Linked DNA regions of Homo sapiens: regions 2, 3, 4 and 5 are each linked to region 1. The links are contacts of gene promoters, found by promoter capture Hi-C in blood cells and fetal thymus (Javierre and others, 2016). All regions are on one chromosome and are shown on one strand. Each heading gives the region's core, a stretch centred on a gene start or on the middle of the fragment in contact. The rest is flanking DNA. Distances are from core to core; before and after follow the strand shown.

Region 1 (2,700 bases), core at 159-2,658:
ATGAAATTGTGTTCTTGATTTTACTCTCAGCCTGGACATTATTGCTGTATAGAAATGCCACTAATTTTTGTACACTTATTTTTTTCCTGATACCTTACTGAAATCATTCATCAGTTCCAGTAGCCTTTTGGCAGAGTCTTCAGAGCTTTCTAGGCATACAATCATATTGTCAACAAGGAGAAATAGTTTGACTTTTTCTTTTCCTGTTTAGATGCCTTTTATGTCTTCCTCTTGCCTAATTGCCCTGGCTAGGGCTTCCTAATTTCTTTTGTAATATTTTCACATGAAAATTCTCCTAAGCTTAAAACTACATATCCCAATGCCTGTGGAAATCTCATCTTGGACTTCCTCAGACACTTGTGAGCAAAATCAAACTTCATCTCATTCTTCTGCTTAAGACTTTTCAGTGGTTCCCATCACCTACAGAATAAAATTGATGCTCCCGCGCTTAGTGTATCATATAAAGCCTGCTGTGAGCTGGTCCCAACATGCCTTTCTGTCCACATGTATCACTTCCTTCCTTTTCATCATTCTCAATTACTAGTAATTCTGTCACACATTATATTTGCATATCTGTGCTTTGGTTCTTTTTTTTTTTTTTTTTTTTTTTTGAGACGGAGTCTCGCTCTGTCGCCCAGGCTGGAGTGCAGTGGTGCTATTTCGGCTCACTGCAAGCTCTGCCTCCCGGGTTCAGGCCATCCTCCTGCCTCAGCCTCCCGAGTAGCTGGGACTACAGGCGCCCGCCACCACACCTGGCTAATTTTTTGTATTTTTAGTAGAGATGGGGTTTCACCATGTTAGCCAGGATGGTCTCAATCTCCTGACCTCGTGATCCACCTGCCTCAGCCTCCCAAAGTTCTGGGATTACAGGTATGAGCCACCACGCCCGGCCTGTGCTTTAGTTCTTTACATGAAACTCCCTTTCTACCTTGTGTTGCCTGGCAAAATCTTACTTACCCAGAACTCTGCTCCGGCATCCTCCGCAGGAAGAACACTTTCATTGAACCCTAGCATTGTCCCTAATACCCTTAATATGTATTGTCATAGCACCCTATGAATTTTTCTATATCACTTTCCATCTTATATTTAAATAATCTTTTTACTTGCCCATCTCTCCCACTGATAATCTAAGCTGGCAGAGGCTGGATCAGATCATAATTATCTTTCTATTCTTAGCGCTAGGATCAATGCCTGGCATAGCATATTTACATTTTTTATTTAAATAAACTGACCTGACTTTCTTCTGGTTGGATATGTTCTGAGTCCCTATTACTAACCTTGGTCTTTTATCTCAGAAGTTGAAGGCTCCCCTGGAGCCAGCTGCAAAGTTCCCAAAGCCCTAACAACCCCACAGCCAATCAGCTACAGAGTAGGCTGCCCTGAGTCGGCCTCCCCAACACAAAGTCCAGGGTTGGAGCAGGAGCAGGAGAGGGACAATGGAAGCTGCCCCGTCCAGGTTCATGTTCCTCTTATTTCTCCTCACGTGTGAGCTGGCTGCAGAAGTTGCTGCAGAAGTTGAGAAATCCTCAGGTAAAAGAAAAATGTAGTTGGGTGGCTATAGTGTGAAAGTGTTATTAGGAGAAGGAAAGGGAGCATGGTGGTTCTCTGGGTACTTTTCCTCCACACCTAGAAAGCTTTCCAGGAAATCCTGGATAAGTGCATTTTGCCTGGTAGAGAGTAGGGAAGTCTGGCAGTATCCTTCAGAGACAGACCATCAGTAGGGTCACCTTCCATATGTTAGTAAAAATATTATGCCTTGGAATGCCAACAGTACTCCTATAAATTGTGCTCTTCTTGCCCTTAGTATAGAGATAAAAGGTATAGATGCCCTCATTATTTAGAGCTGCTTCTTCTTGCCTCAGTACCCTGACATCTTCTGCTTCTCTCTCTAGATGGTCCTGGTGCTGCCCAGGAACCCACGTGGCTCACAGATGTCCCAGCTGCCATGGAATTCATTGCTGCCACTGAGGTGGCTGTCATAGGCTTCTTCCAGGTTAGTTCCCTACTTGCAATTCCCCCAAGAGCCAGAAATGTTCTACCTTAAGGGAACCACAGCAGCCACCTGCTGCTGGCAGATGGCACTGCATTAGAAGTGGGGGTAAAGGGAGACAGCCACCCAGTTTGATTTCATCTTGTCCATTGGGACCTCTTATTTTCAAGACATTCCCAGTCTCTAAATTATATCTTTCTCATACTTACTTCAAGAGTTCTGAGCCTGTGGGCTGCATCTCCTCATCTATGGATGCTTTGAAGCTCAAGTCAGTATCTGCAGAAAGAATGCCTTCATGGAACCCCACCATTGTCCTAAACACATTTGGTCTATACTCTCATAGCACCCTATGAATAGGCAGGGGCCAGAGTGAACCCAATTTATATCATCCAGCAACACTGTTTACAGGATGCCAAACATCCTGGACATTAGTCAGTGCACAGCCTTTTAAAGCCTTTCCCCCAAATATGGTAGACTCTCCTTCTTTCTCTTTGCCTTGTCTGAAATGTTGGAAAATGATGGCATTTTGTATATTCAAGGTGTTAACCTCCATCTTCCAGATTAGCTTCTTGACTAAGAAAGGCAGCCATAAATGAGACTGCCTCATTCCAGCATTTTCATCTTTCTCTGGTGGTAGCATCTGGAAATCCTCACAGCTGATCAAGCCCCTACTCTCTCATAGCAGACCTTCTTGTCTGTTTCCATTTCTC
Region 2 (2,700 bases), core at 71-2,570, 430 kb after region 1:
CCAGGAATCAGCTTTTTCAGAGATTCTGGTGGTAGGTCCTATTATCTAACTTCAAGTCCCTGCTCTGCCATTTAGTAGTAAATCACATAATTCCGTCATGTTTCTGTTTCCTCATCTGTAAAATGGATATAACAGTACTTACCTCATATGTTGTTCTGAAGAATAAGGCTTTAATCTCTGTAAAATGTTTACAACAGCACTTAGTGAGTTATTTGTAAATGTATACAACCATAATGATGTTATTGTTGTCTTATGTTTTACCAGACTGGCCCAAAGTCCAAAGAACATATTATTCAAGCAGTGCGATTCCATGTTAAACATGAGTCAAATTTAGCTGAAGGAGCAAGTTTGGACAAGATGCCTAAAGCACAGCAGTTTTTCACAATGTTAGAATTGATAAGTGCTGTAATGTATCTGAAAATATAAGTAATAAGTAGGTTTGCAGTGGTGTGCTAAAGCCAGCTTATAGACATGCAGGAACCAATTGTTAGTTGACGTGTTGATGGCTTCAAACCAGTCAGTGAAAGTATTTACATTATGGAAATCAGGAACTTTTTTCCTCACAAAGAAAGATTGTTGTTAAAAATTTACCTGCTCACCACTGGATTTGGGACGTCTGAGGGTATGAGGCATTTGGTTGGTGGAATCATGCTACTACATCCTTTTGCACTCTTGGCTTGGGTGTGTGTCTTTTCATTTCATCAGCTGTCCTAAATTCTGGAAGAAACCTGTCAGGGTAAAGTGTGTATTCTGTCTTTGGCTCAAAAAATTATAGGAATGCTGACCCCAGTTGCACATGATTCTCTATCAGCCTAATACCTAAACAGGAAATGCTTTAAAGTATCCTAAGTTCCAGCTCAACCTTCTTTTTAGCTATGTGATGAAGGCAAAGCTTTAGCCGTAATGACTCTCAATGTTAACATTAAAAAAAAAAAAAAAAAAGGTAGACGTAGAGAAGCTGGCACAGATGAAACCCCAATGAATGTTTTTGTATTCCTTTTTTAAAATGGCATTTGCAAACATTCAGTCAATGTGTGAAGTTTGTATCTATCACAGAATACACAAAGAAAATCACCTCTGCTGCCTTGCCTGGGAGAACTCAAGCCAAGCTTCCCTCTACCAAATCTCACTTCTGGAGACAGAGGCCTGCAATTGTTCTTATCAGAAAGTTTCTGTTGAAGGATATTCTTTAAAAATGTAATTTATCTCTTTAGAGTCATTTTGAATATGGGGAAAAGAAGAAGAGATTCTCTTTCCCCTCTAAGATTAAGACCCACTGCTAGCCAGTTGTTAGGTGTTTTTGAGAACCACGGCCCTCAATTTTTGACAGTGAGCTCTATCTACTTTCAGACTCTTGTTACCACCCTGATTAATAACAACTTTTTCTAAGAACTTCATCTATTCTAGGCATTACTTTGAGCATTGCTTGCATTAATCCTCATGCCAACTCTATGAAGTAGGGTTATCAGCCCATTTTACAAAGGAGAACACTGATTCATAGAGGGGTTAAGTGATTTTTAAATAAGCTTTGGAGCTAGAATTCTGAATATGAGTAATCTGACTTCATATCTCACTTTTGGCTACATTGTTCATTTCACACACTTCTAGTCAACTGACATTTAAGCCAAATGTATACAGAAGACTGTATCATATAAAGACAATGTGAAAAATGGCAAGAAAATTTTGTTTTAAAGAAGGCGGCCTGGCGCGGTGGCTCATGCCTGTAATCCCAGCACTTTGGGAGGCTGAGGCGGGCGGATCACCTGAGATCAGGAGTTCGAGACCAGTTTGGCCAACAAGGCAAAACCCCATCTCTACTAAAAATATAAAAATTACCTGGGTGTGGTGGCCCATCCACGTAATCCTAGCTACTTGGGAGGCTGAGGCAGGAGAATTGCTTGAACCTGGGAGGCAGAGGTTGCAATGAGCTGAGATTGTGCCACTGTACTCCAGTCTGGGCAACAAGAGCGAAACTCCGACTCAAAAAAAAAGCTAATATTGTGACTTTGGTAGTGGGAGAGTGGGGAAGGCCATGGATTTAATTTTTTGCTGAACGATGATTTTCTAAAATGTCCTCCTCCTCCCTCTTTCCAGGTGGCAGATATCTACCTAGCATCTCAGTACACATCCTATGCCATAAGTGGTCCCACAGTACAAGGTGGCCTCCCTGTTTTTCGCTGGGACCGTTTCAACAAAACTCTACATCAGGGCATGCCAGAGGTCTACAACTTTGATTTTATTACCATGAAACCAATTTTGAAACTTGATATAAAATGAAGGAGGGAGATGACGGACTAGAAGACTGTAAATAAGATACCAAAGGCACTATTTTAGCTATGTTTTTCCCATCAGAATTATGCAATAAAATATATTAATTTGTCACTTTCATTTCCCACTGACTTTGTTGTTTTTACAGTAAGCACTCACTATAAGGTAGAGCACTGTAGAAGAAATGTTACATATATATATAAATAACACTAAGCTTCGGCATACATGCTAATACACAAGAGGGTATGGAAGAAACAGCTCCTTCATTCACCAGAATTCATGTTCTCCTTTCACGCCTGCTCACACAGACCACATCTCCCAGTGTCCCTCAGATAGTTGTGCCACATGACAATTCTAGCCATTGGAACCTGAGACGAGTGCCACTTCCAGGCCTCGCCCATAAGAATCTGTACTCCTCCTATGCTCTTTCCC
Region 3 (2,700 bases), core at 71-2,570, 280 kb before region 1:
AGAACATTAGGACAAATGGATTTTCTTAGATCCACGTATGGAAGCTCTCAGATTATGAATTATTTGGAACATCAGAAACTTGGCAACAGTTTACTTATTACAACAATTTACATATTTATTTTTGTTTTCTATCTTGTCAAATGTAACTTTTCACATTTTCATGTGAGAAATAAAATGTTGAAGAACTCCTGTCAGTTTTGTGTCTTCCTTTAAGTGATTTTTCTAAACATAAAATTAGGTTGACAATAACCAGCTGTATCTTTATTAGGTTATAAATGGAAAAAATAGCCCACACAATTTCTCTTTCTTATGTGAAATTCCTATGCCTCTGGGGCCATTTGGGAGTTACTAAAAAATGTGACTTGTCATTTTTTTAAAATCACATTTGATGGCTACTTTCATGAAACATTAATCAGACAGATAATTACTTGCATTTTATATCCATGTATATGAACAGTTTTGCATGAAACAAAATTATTGTTTATACTAGCTGCAGACACTTGCGTGTTCAATGTTTCAAAGAAATACTTGCCAGCACCTCTTCTCATTTATAATTTAAATAGTTAATATATCTCCACATATTATGTTTCTGTGATGAAGCCCTGAACCTTAAAAACATAGGGCCTTTTCTTAATGAATGCATCTAAAGTGACAAATAAGGAAATCTTTTTATCTTTAGCCAAAAATATGGGACTGGACAAATTGCAGATGTTTAAGCTTCTGGTTTTTGCTAATAATGATTACTTAGACACTTTGTCATTATTGAGGATGAAGTAAACAATAGCTAATGTTAATGTTGATTTTTCCTTCCTTCAGAGGAAGCTCTGGCACTTTGAAAATCAGCAAATACAAAACCTTATTAGGTACAGGATGATAGCTTAAATACCTAAGGAAGAAAACAATTACATGATAATGTCTTTGTAGAAATACTTTTTCAGGCGGATTTTCACTTTTTAATTTCTCTCTCAAGAAGCTCTTTGTAAAAATTTATAGATGGAAAAATCTGGCAGGAACATTTAACACATTTAGATAACATATTTGTGTTTAAAACATCTTTACTGCCTTGAAAATGGAATGAATTATGCAGACTGGTGTGATTAAGATTAACACGGGTAAAAGTGCTGTGCTGTATTTAGGTTTAAGCCATTGATTGCAAATGTTCGGAATGAGGGGGTCTGCAGTCCGTGTAAAAGATGTGAGGCTTAATGTGATTGGCTGTGCTACAGTATAACCATGGTGGGCAGATTAACGATAGTGAAAATCTCAGGGAATTTACACCGGGTCAGTTTGTCAGGTCATATCTCAAAGTGGAATGCAGTGGACACCATGCTTTTAGAGTGATTAAGATGTTGAGGAGGCAATGCACATGATGAAAAAGGGAGTGAAGGTCAAAAAAACATAAACGAGAGTGTACATTCCGGGAAGAACAAGTGGACAGGCTGGGCCTCATGTTCCTAGAAAAAAGAAGCCTAGGATGGAGCAAAGGGTCCTACTAGATGCTAGGATCCTTGAACGGTTCTGAGTGAAAGAAAAAGTTGACTTGTTTTGAGTTATTTCATAGAGAGAAATGAGGACAAATGAGTAGAAGCCGCAGGGAGACAGTTTAGAGCTCAATATTAGAAAGATAGTTCCTCCTAATTGGAGAAATGAAGCAGCTTTCAGAAGTAATGAGCCCACCTTTCATACCTGGAAGTGGTAAGTCAGGCATGGAATATGGAATGATTGTTATGTCCTAAGGAAAGATTCTTGCTAGAAGAATGGCTAGAAGATTTCTTCAGATGACCCCCACTCCAGCCCCCACCACCACCAAAGCTCTTTCCAAATTTACGTTTCCATGATCCTAAGAACCTAGATGTCACTCCTAAAGCACCAAACTAAATAAGATGTGCTTACTTTGTACATAATGTTATTTCCCAAGCTTTAAGACAGCACTATAAACAAATTTACTTGAAGTCATCATAGAAAAGGAATAACTTGGAGCATGGCATTTATCGTTTTTGTACCAGGGCATTGTGTCCAGCAAAATATAGAAATGTAATCTATGTATTATATATTGATTCCTAGAACATGTGTATCTGTATCTGTCACAGGAATTCATCATGTGATCAAGTGTGAATTGAGAAAAAATTTAACTTTGAGATGCAAAATTGAATTGTGTTGCATTGGAGTTGACTAATATGAATGTATGTTATTCAACCCAAAGAGACATGAAGAGGCCCAAAAGTGACTCTCTCCATTGCCCCACTGCATGTGTTTGTACACTGAATGCTTACAGATAGATGGTAAATGTGTGTATTCACTTTTACTTTCAGTTACTATCAAGAATCAATACCTTCATAAGAAAATTTCTTGAGGAAGTACTTTAGAAATGCTATTGTGTGTGATAATGCACGTTTTAGTACCAACCAGATCCAAATCCAAGTCCTGAATCTACCATTTATTAGTTAAATCATTTACAGTAAGTTACCATAGACTTCTCACAGGATAGTGGTAAAGATCAAACCAGAAAATGTTGAAAAAGTGAATGGTGGCTGGCATATAGTAGATGCTCAATAAATATTAATTCATTTTCCAGTCACTTATGAATTCCCAAATTTCTTTTGTTTAAGGATTGTGGACTCTTCCAAGATTCACAATGATATGGTGAATCCAAAGACTGGAACCAAAAAGATTTACTCAGTGCTTTAGTTTTAACAACAG
Region 4 (2,700 bases), core at 173-2,672, 480 kb after region 1:
AAAAACTAAGGCTTGTACATCTCACTTATAAAAGTAATTTTGTACTTTAGAATTTGTTTCCTATATTACATGGTCACTTACAACATCAATAAGAAAAATACTGTAGCAATTTTACTAGACACATGATGCCTACCCTTGCATGACTTTCCAAAAGTAGTGCACATAAATGTGAAGTCAGAAATGAAGAATAAGCAAGTTCAAGAATGCATACAAAACAAACTCTTTCTAGGAACTAGGAAGACACAGAGTTTGGCAGATTTTAAACAGGTATAATCAAGTGCTCCTTTTTGCAATATTTCTAAGTAAAATACAAACAATCATATAATATGTCATATGGGAAAACACGGAAAAGATAAAACAAGAAGGACTCAAACATTTTATAGCAAATGTGAAAGAAAAACTTATTTTTAAGTTGTTCAAATTTGGAAGCTATGAGTGAGTGCACAAAGGATTTTCCAAATGGGTAAGGAACATAAACGTGTCTTTTTTTCTTAAAAGCATATATTATGTAAATTTGATACTTTAAAATGTTTTAAACGATATTGCTGGCAAATGTATCATAAAAGTAACTCATAATGCTTGCCACAAAGCCATAAATTAAAAATTCACCAAACTTAGGAAAATTACTAAAAGATAAAACACAGATACTAACTTCTAATTCAAAATAAAACCCCTCTCAAGCCCCATTTTAGCAACATCATTTCTCTCAGGTATCTAAAAAATTACTAAAAATAATCAAGAAAATTCTATTTATTTTGTACTTCCAATAACGCTAGCCACTTAGAAAAAAAAAGTTCAATCATTACAAGGCTATTAAGATGCTTGCATTTCTAGTATTAAACCTACATGGTGACTTACCAATTCTTGGGGTGGTATTGCTGTTCTGTTCTGCAGCAGACGAAGTACTAAATGCAGAAATTGGAATTTTCATCTGTATAGGACCTCGATTAGTTGATGGACTATAGAGTCCTGATGGGCCCACTGTGGGTAAAGAAGTCCTTGTGGCTTGTACAATAGAGTGTGCTGTTGGAACAGCCTGCACAGCAAGTGTTGTTCCCAATGGTGCAGCACTGGCAGTAGGGTTCCTTTGAATACTAGGACTGGGCACAGAAGGAACGTTGTTTGGTTTAGTGGGATTTGGCAAGGATGGCAAGGATACTGGATTTTTGGTAAGACCACTCACTGTAGGTGGGCTTTGCACAGAAATGAATTCAACATTGCCAGATGGTTGATTAGTCACCAAAGTCCCTGGATGGCTCTGTAGAAGCTGAGGCTGGGAGGATACTGCAACAGGTACATGCAAAATCACTGGCAAAGGCTGTAAAGAGATTGTAGGCTGGGGATTTCCACTAGGCACCTGAGTAGTAGCAACTACAGTAGCTGTATTGGGTGCAGGAAGAACTGACGTTGCTGTGAGGGAACCCGAAGTCACTGGAGTCTGCAATTTAGGTTGACTACTGACAACTGCTGGAGGAGTGACAAGATTGGTTGAAGATACTATAGAAAGAAAACAGAAGCCTCAGTTTAAATGGTTATATTAATTTATCAACTAAGAAAATATGACAGACACAAATTAAATACATTGCGTAATACATTGCAAAGACTGTAAAGTCTTTTATCATGAAATTTTTTTCCAGATTTAAATTCCAAAATTTAATTTAGAATTAAATTCATAGAAGCATTTTGCATGTAGTTTTAGTAAATTACAAAAACAGCACATGATCGATGATTAATATGCAAGACTACTGAGGATCAAAACGGTCTCTGAAAATTACTATAATCACTTTAGAGTACCTAACTAGTAAACAAATAAAAAATACTAAAAAGTTAAGTAAAAATATATATTTTTGAAACTACATTAAAAACATTATAAATGCCTTACAACACAAGTAATATATAAACTCAAATAGTAAATCTAAAAAGAGTCATGACCATTAATGAATAACAGGTAGGCTTACTCATCGTATTTTATTATTTGAACCATGTCTGTATCTTTGGATCAAGTTTGATTGAATTCCTTGGGAGAGGAACTATTGAGGGGAGATTCCCTCTACTGACACCCTACTGACATTGTATGATATGGAAAACAGCACTGAGCGAAGATGACAGATGAATTAAGAAGAAATGAGGTAGCATATACAGAAGAACAGAGAAAATACAAATGCTGGTCACTAGTTTTATAATAATTTTCAACTACTTGTGTTTATTCTCATTGCAACAGGTTTAAAATACATGACCAAACTTCTTTCTCATTGATTTATAGTCTTTCCAAAAATAACAGGTTCACTAGAGCAGCAGTTTCTCAAAGTGTGGTCCAGCGGGGTGCCTGGGGTTTTCTGAGACCCTTTCAGGGAGTTTGCAATGTCAAAACTATTTTCATAACAATGAGACATTATTTGACTGTTTAAATAAGCAGACATTAGCACCAATGGAGCAAAAGCAATGCTAAGTAAAACTTCTGATGCTTTAGTACAAAAATCAAGGTAGTATAATGGGACCAAACATCGCTGCATTCTTCATCACATGCTTACAGTAAAAAACAAAGTCAGTTTTACTTAAGAATCCCCATGATACAGCGGTAAAAACTATTAACTTTATTATATCTCAACCTTTGAATAGGGGTTCTTTTCTTAATATTCCATGTGAAGAAATAGGCAGTACATATAAGACAACTACTGCGTGCCAAAGTAGGATAGTTAA
Region 5 (2,700 bases), core at 130-2,629, 300 kb after region 1:
TTCCTCATTCTGTGTGATATTGGCAGGTTTGTAGTATATGGCTTTTATTATTTTGTGGGTGTGTGATATATGGCTGGCCTTTATTATGTTGAGATATATTCCTTCTATGGCTAGTTTTTTGAGAGTTTTTATCAAGAAGAGATGTTGAATATTATCAAATGCTTTTTCTGCATCGATTGAGATGATCATATGGCTTTTGTTCTTCATTCTGTTGACGTAATGTATCATGTTTATTGATTTGCATATGTTAAATCATCCTTGCTTCCTGGGGATAAATCCCACTTGATCATGGCGTATTATCTTTTTGATGTACTGTTAGATTCAGTTTGCTAGTATTTTTTTTCTTGGAGGATTTTTGCATCTATGTTCCTCAGGGATATTGACCCATAGTTTTCCTTTTTTGTTGTATCCTTGTCTGGTTTTGGTATGAGGGTACTGCTGGCCTTGTAGAATGAAGGAGAATTCCCTATTCAATTTTTTTGAATAGTTTGAAGAGAATTAGTGTTAGTTCTTCTTTGGAAGTTTGGCATAATTCAGCAGTAAAGTCATCCAGTTCTGGACTTTTCTTTGTTGGGAGACTAGTGATTCAGTCTCATTACTCATTGTTGGTCTGTTCATGTATTCTATGGTATTCTATTTTTTTCTGATTCAATCTATGTAGATTGCATTTATCCAGGAATTTCTCCACTTCCTCTATATTTTTCAGTTTGCTGGTATATAGTTGTTCATAATAGTCTCTGATAATCTTTCACATTTTTGTGCAATTGGTTTTTATGTCTTTTTCTAATTTCTGATTTTGTTTATTTGGATCTTCTCTCATTTTTTTCTTGGTTAGTCTAGCTAATGGTTTATTGACTTTGTTTACCTTTTCATAAAAACAACTTTTTATTTCAATGATCCTTTGTATTATTTTTTCAACCTCTATTTTGTCTAGTTCTACTCTGACCTTTATTATTTCTTTCCCTCTACGAACTTTGGGTTTGGTTTATTCTTGCTTTTCTAATTCCTTGAGGTGCCTTGTTAGATTTGAATTTTTTCTGATTTTTTGATGCAGGCATTTATTCCTATAAACTACTCTCTTAGCAGTACTTTCGCTGTATCCCATAAGTTGTGGTATGCTGTGTTTAAATTTTCATTTGTTTTAATTTTTTATAATTTCTCCTAATTTCTTTATCGACTCAATGGTTATTCAGAAGCATGTTGTTTAGTTTTTATGTATTTGTGTAGTTTCCAAAGTTCCTCCTGGTATTGAGTTCTACTTTTATTCCATTGTGGCCTGAGAAGATATTTGATATAATTCTGGTTCTTTATAAATATGTTGAGACTGGTTTTGTGTCGTAACATATGGTCTATCCTGGAGAATGTTCCATGTGCTGATCACAGGAATGTTTATTCTTTAGCTATTGAATGAAATGTTCTGTAAATGTTAGGTTCACTTGTTCTAACGTGCAGTTTAAATCCAATGTTTCTTGGTTAATTTTCTGTCTTTATGATCTGTTTAATGCTGAGAGTGGAGTGTTGAAGTCCCCAACTATTATTAGATTGGAATCTACTTCTTCCTTTAGATCTAATAGTATTTGCTTTAAATGTCTGTATGCTTCAATGTTGGGTGTGTATATGTTTAGAATTGTTATATCCTCTTGCTGAATTGAGTCCTTTATCATTATATAATGACCTATGACCTTTGTCTCTTTTTACAGTTTTTTACTTAAAGTCTGTTTTACCTAATATAAGTATAGCTACTCTTGCTTGCTTTTGGTTTTCATTTGCATGGAATATCTTTCCATCCCTTTACTTTCAGTCTACATATTTCTTTACAGATAAGATGAGTTTCTTGTAGGCAGCCTACAGTTGGGTCATTTTTAAAAATCCATTGAACCAGTCTATATCTTTTAAGTGAAAAATTTTGATCCATTTACATTCAAAGTTATTATTATGTAAGGGCTTATTCCTTTCATTTGATTAATTGATTTCTGGTTGTTTATACATCCTTTGTTCCTTTCTTTCCCTTGTTTTTCATTATGGTTTGTGGTTTTCTGCAGTGGTAACCTTTGAGACCCTTCTCTTCCCTCTTTGTGTGATTGCTTTACTAGTGGGTTTCATACTTTCATGTGTTTTCATGGTGGTAGATGACATCCTTTCACTTCCAGGCGTAGGACGCCCTGAAGCATTTCTTGTAGGGGAGGTCTAGGGGTGATGAATTTCCCTAGCATTCACTTGCCTGGGACAGCCTTTATTTCTTCTTCATTTATGAAAGATAAGTTTGCTGGATATAGTATCCTTAACTGGAATTTGGTTTTTCTTTCAGCACTTTGACTACCTCATCCCTTTTCTCCTGGCCTGTAATGTTTCTGCTGAGAAATTCACTGTTAATCTGATGGGGGTTTCCTTATAAGTAACCAGATGCTTTTTTCTTGCTATTTTTAGAATTTTCTCTTTAACTTTTGACAATTTGACTATAATGTGCCACGGAGAAGATCTTTTTTAATTATATGTATTTGGGGATCTCTGAGTTTCCTGTATCTGAATGTCTAAATCTCTTGCTATTATTTTGTTAAATGGGTTTTGTATTCCTTTTGTTTTCTCTTCGCCTTTTGGGACACCAAAAATTTTAAGTATTTAGCCACTTTATGGTGTCTATATCATGTAGGCTTTGCTCATTCATTTTTGTTCTTTTTTCTTTATTTTTGTCTTATTGGA

The links. Contacts are between HindIII fragments. The CHiCAGO score rates a contact against its expected background, and 5 or more counts as called.
Region 2: a fragment that was not itself captured here is called in contact with the fragment with the promoter of ERP27 in region 1 in 1 of 17 cell types (neutrophils); the score reaches 5.4 in neutrophils.
Region 3: a contact is called between a fragment that was not itself captured here and the fragment with the promoter of ERP27 in region 1, in 2 of 17 cell types (non-activated CD4 T cells and total CD8 T cells). The highest score is 6.0, in non-activated CD4 T cells.
Region 4: a contact is called between a fragment that was not itself captured here and the fragment with the promoter of ERP27 in region 1, in 1 of 17 cell types (activated CD4 T cells). The highest score is 5.3, in activated CD4 T cells.
Region 5: a fragment that was not itself captured here is called in contact with the fragment with the promoter of ERP27 in region 1 in 1 of 17 cell types (neutrophils); the score reaches 5.0 in neutrophils.

Annotation. Positions count from the first base shown.
Region 1 is chr12:14,937,245-14,939,944 of GRCh38, reverse strand. ERP27 (endoplasmic reticulum protein 27) reads left to right here and starts at 1,408. Exons shown (of 7, transcript NM_152321.4): 1 at 1,408-1,530; 2 at 1,893-1,993. The coding sequence starts at 1,437. RefSeq lists an enhancer at 1,893-1,952. The HindIII fragment of the contact is 1,334 bases long and covers 303-1,636 here.
Region 2 is chr12:14,503,349-14,506,048 of GRCh38, reverse strand. It overlaps PLBD1 (phospholipase B domain containing 1), which reads left to right. Exons shown (of 11, transcript NM_024829.6): 11 at 2,095-2,388. The coding sequence ends at 2,277. Among named protein-coding and RNA genes, the nearest start is that of PLBD1-AS2, 25 kb to the left of the region's middle. RefSeq lists an enhancer at 1-567. The HindIII fragment of the contact is 417 bases long and covers 1,112-1,528 here.
Region 3 is chr12:15,217,513-15,220,212 of GRCh38, reverse strand. It overlaps RERG (RAS like estrogen regulated growth inhibitor), which reads left to right. Exons shown (of 5, transcript NM_032918.3): 2 at 2,610-2,700. Among named protein-coding and RNA genes, the nearest start is that of RERG, 2.6 kb to the left of the region's middle. The HindIII fragment of the contact is 1,201 bases long and covers 720-1,920 here.
Region 4 is chr12:14,459,292-14,461,991 of GRCh38, reverse strand. It overlaps ATF7IP (activating transcription factor 7 interacting protein), which reads right to left. Exons shown (of 15, transcript NM_018179.5): 9 at 859-1,497. Among named protein-coding and RNA genes, the nearest start is that of PLBD1-AS2, 69 kb to the left of the region's middle. The HindIII fragment of the contact is 4,741 bases long and covers 1-2,700 here.
Region 5 is chr12:14,633,848-14,636,547 of GRCh38, reverse strand. The region is part of intron 19 of GUCY2C (guanylate cyclase 2C); the gene reads left to right. Among named protein-coding and RNA genes, the nearest start is that of GUCY2C-AS1, 30 kb to the left of the region's middle. The HindIII fragment of the contact is 2,774 bases long and covers 1-2,700 here.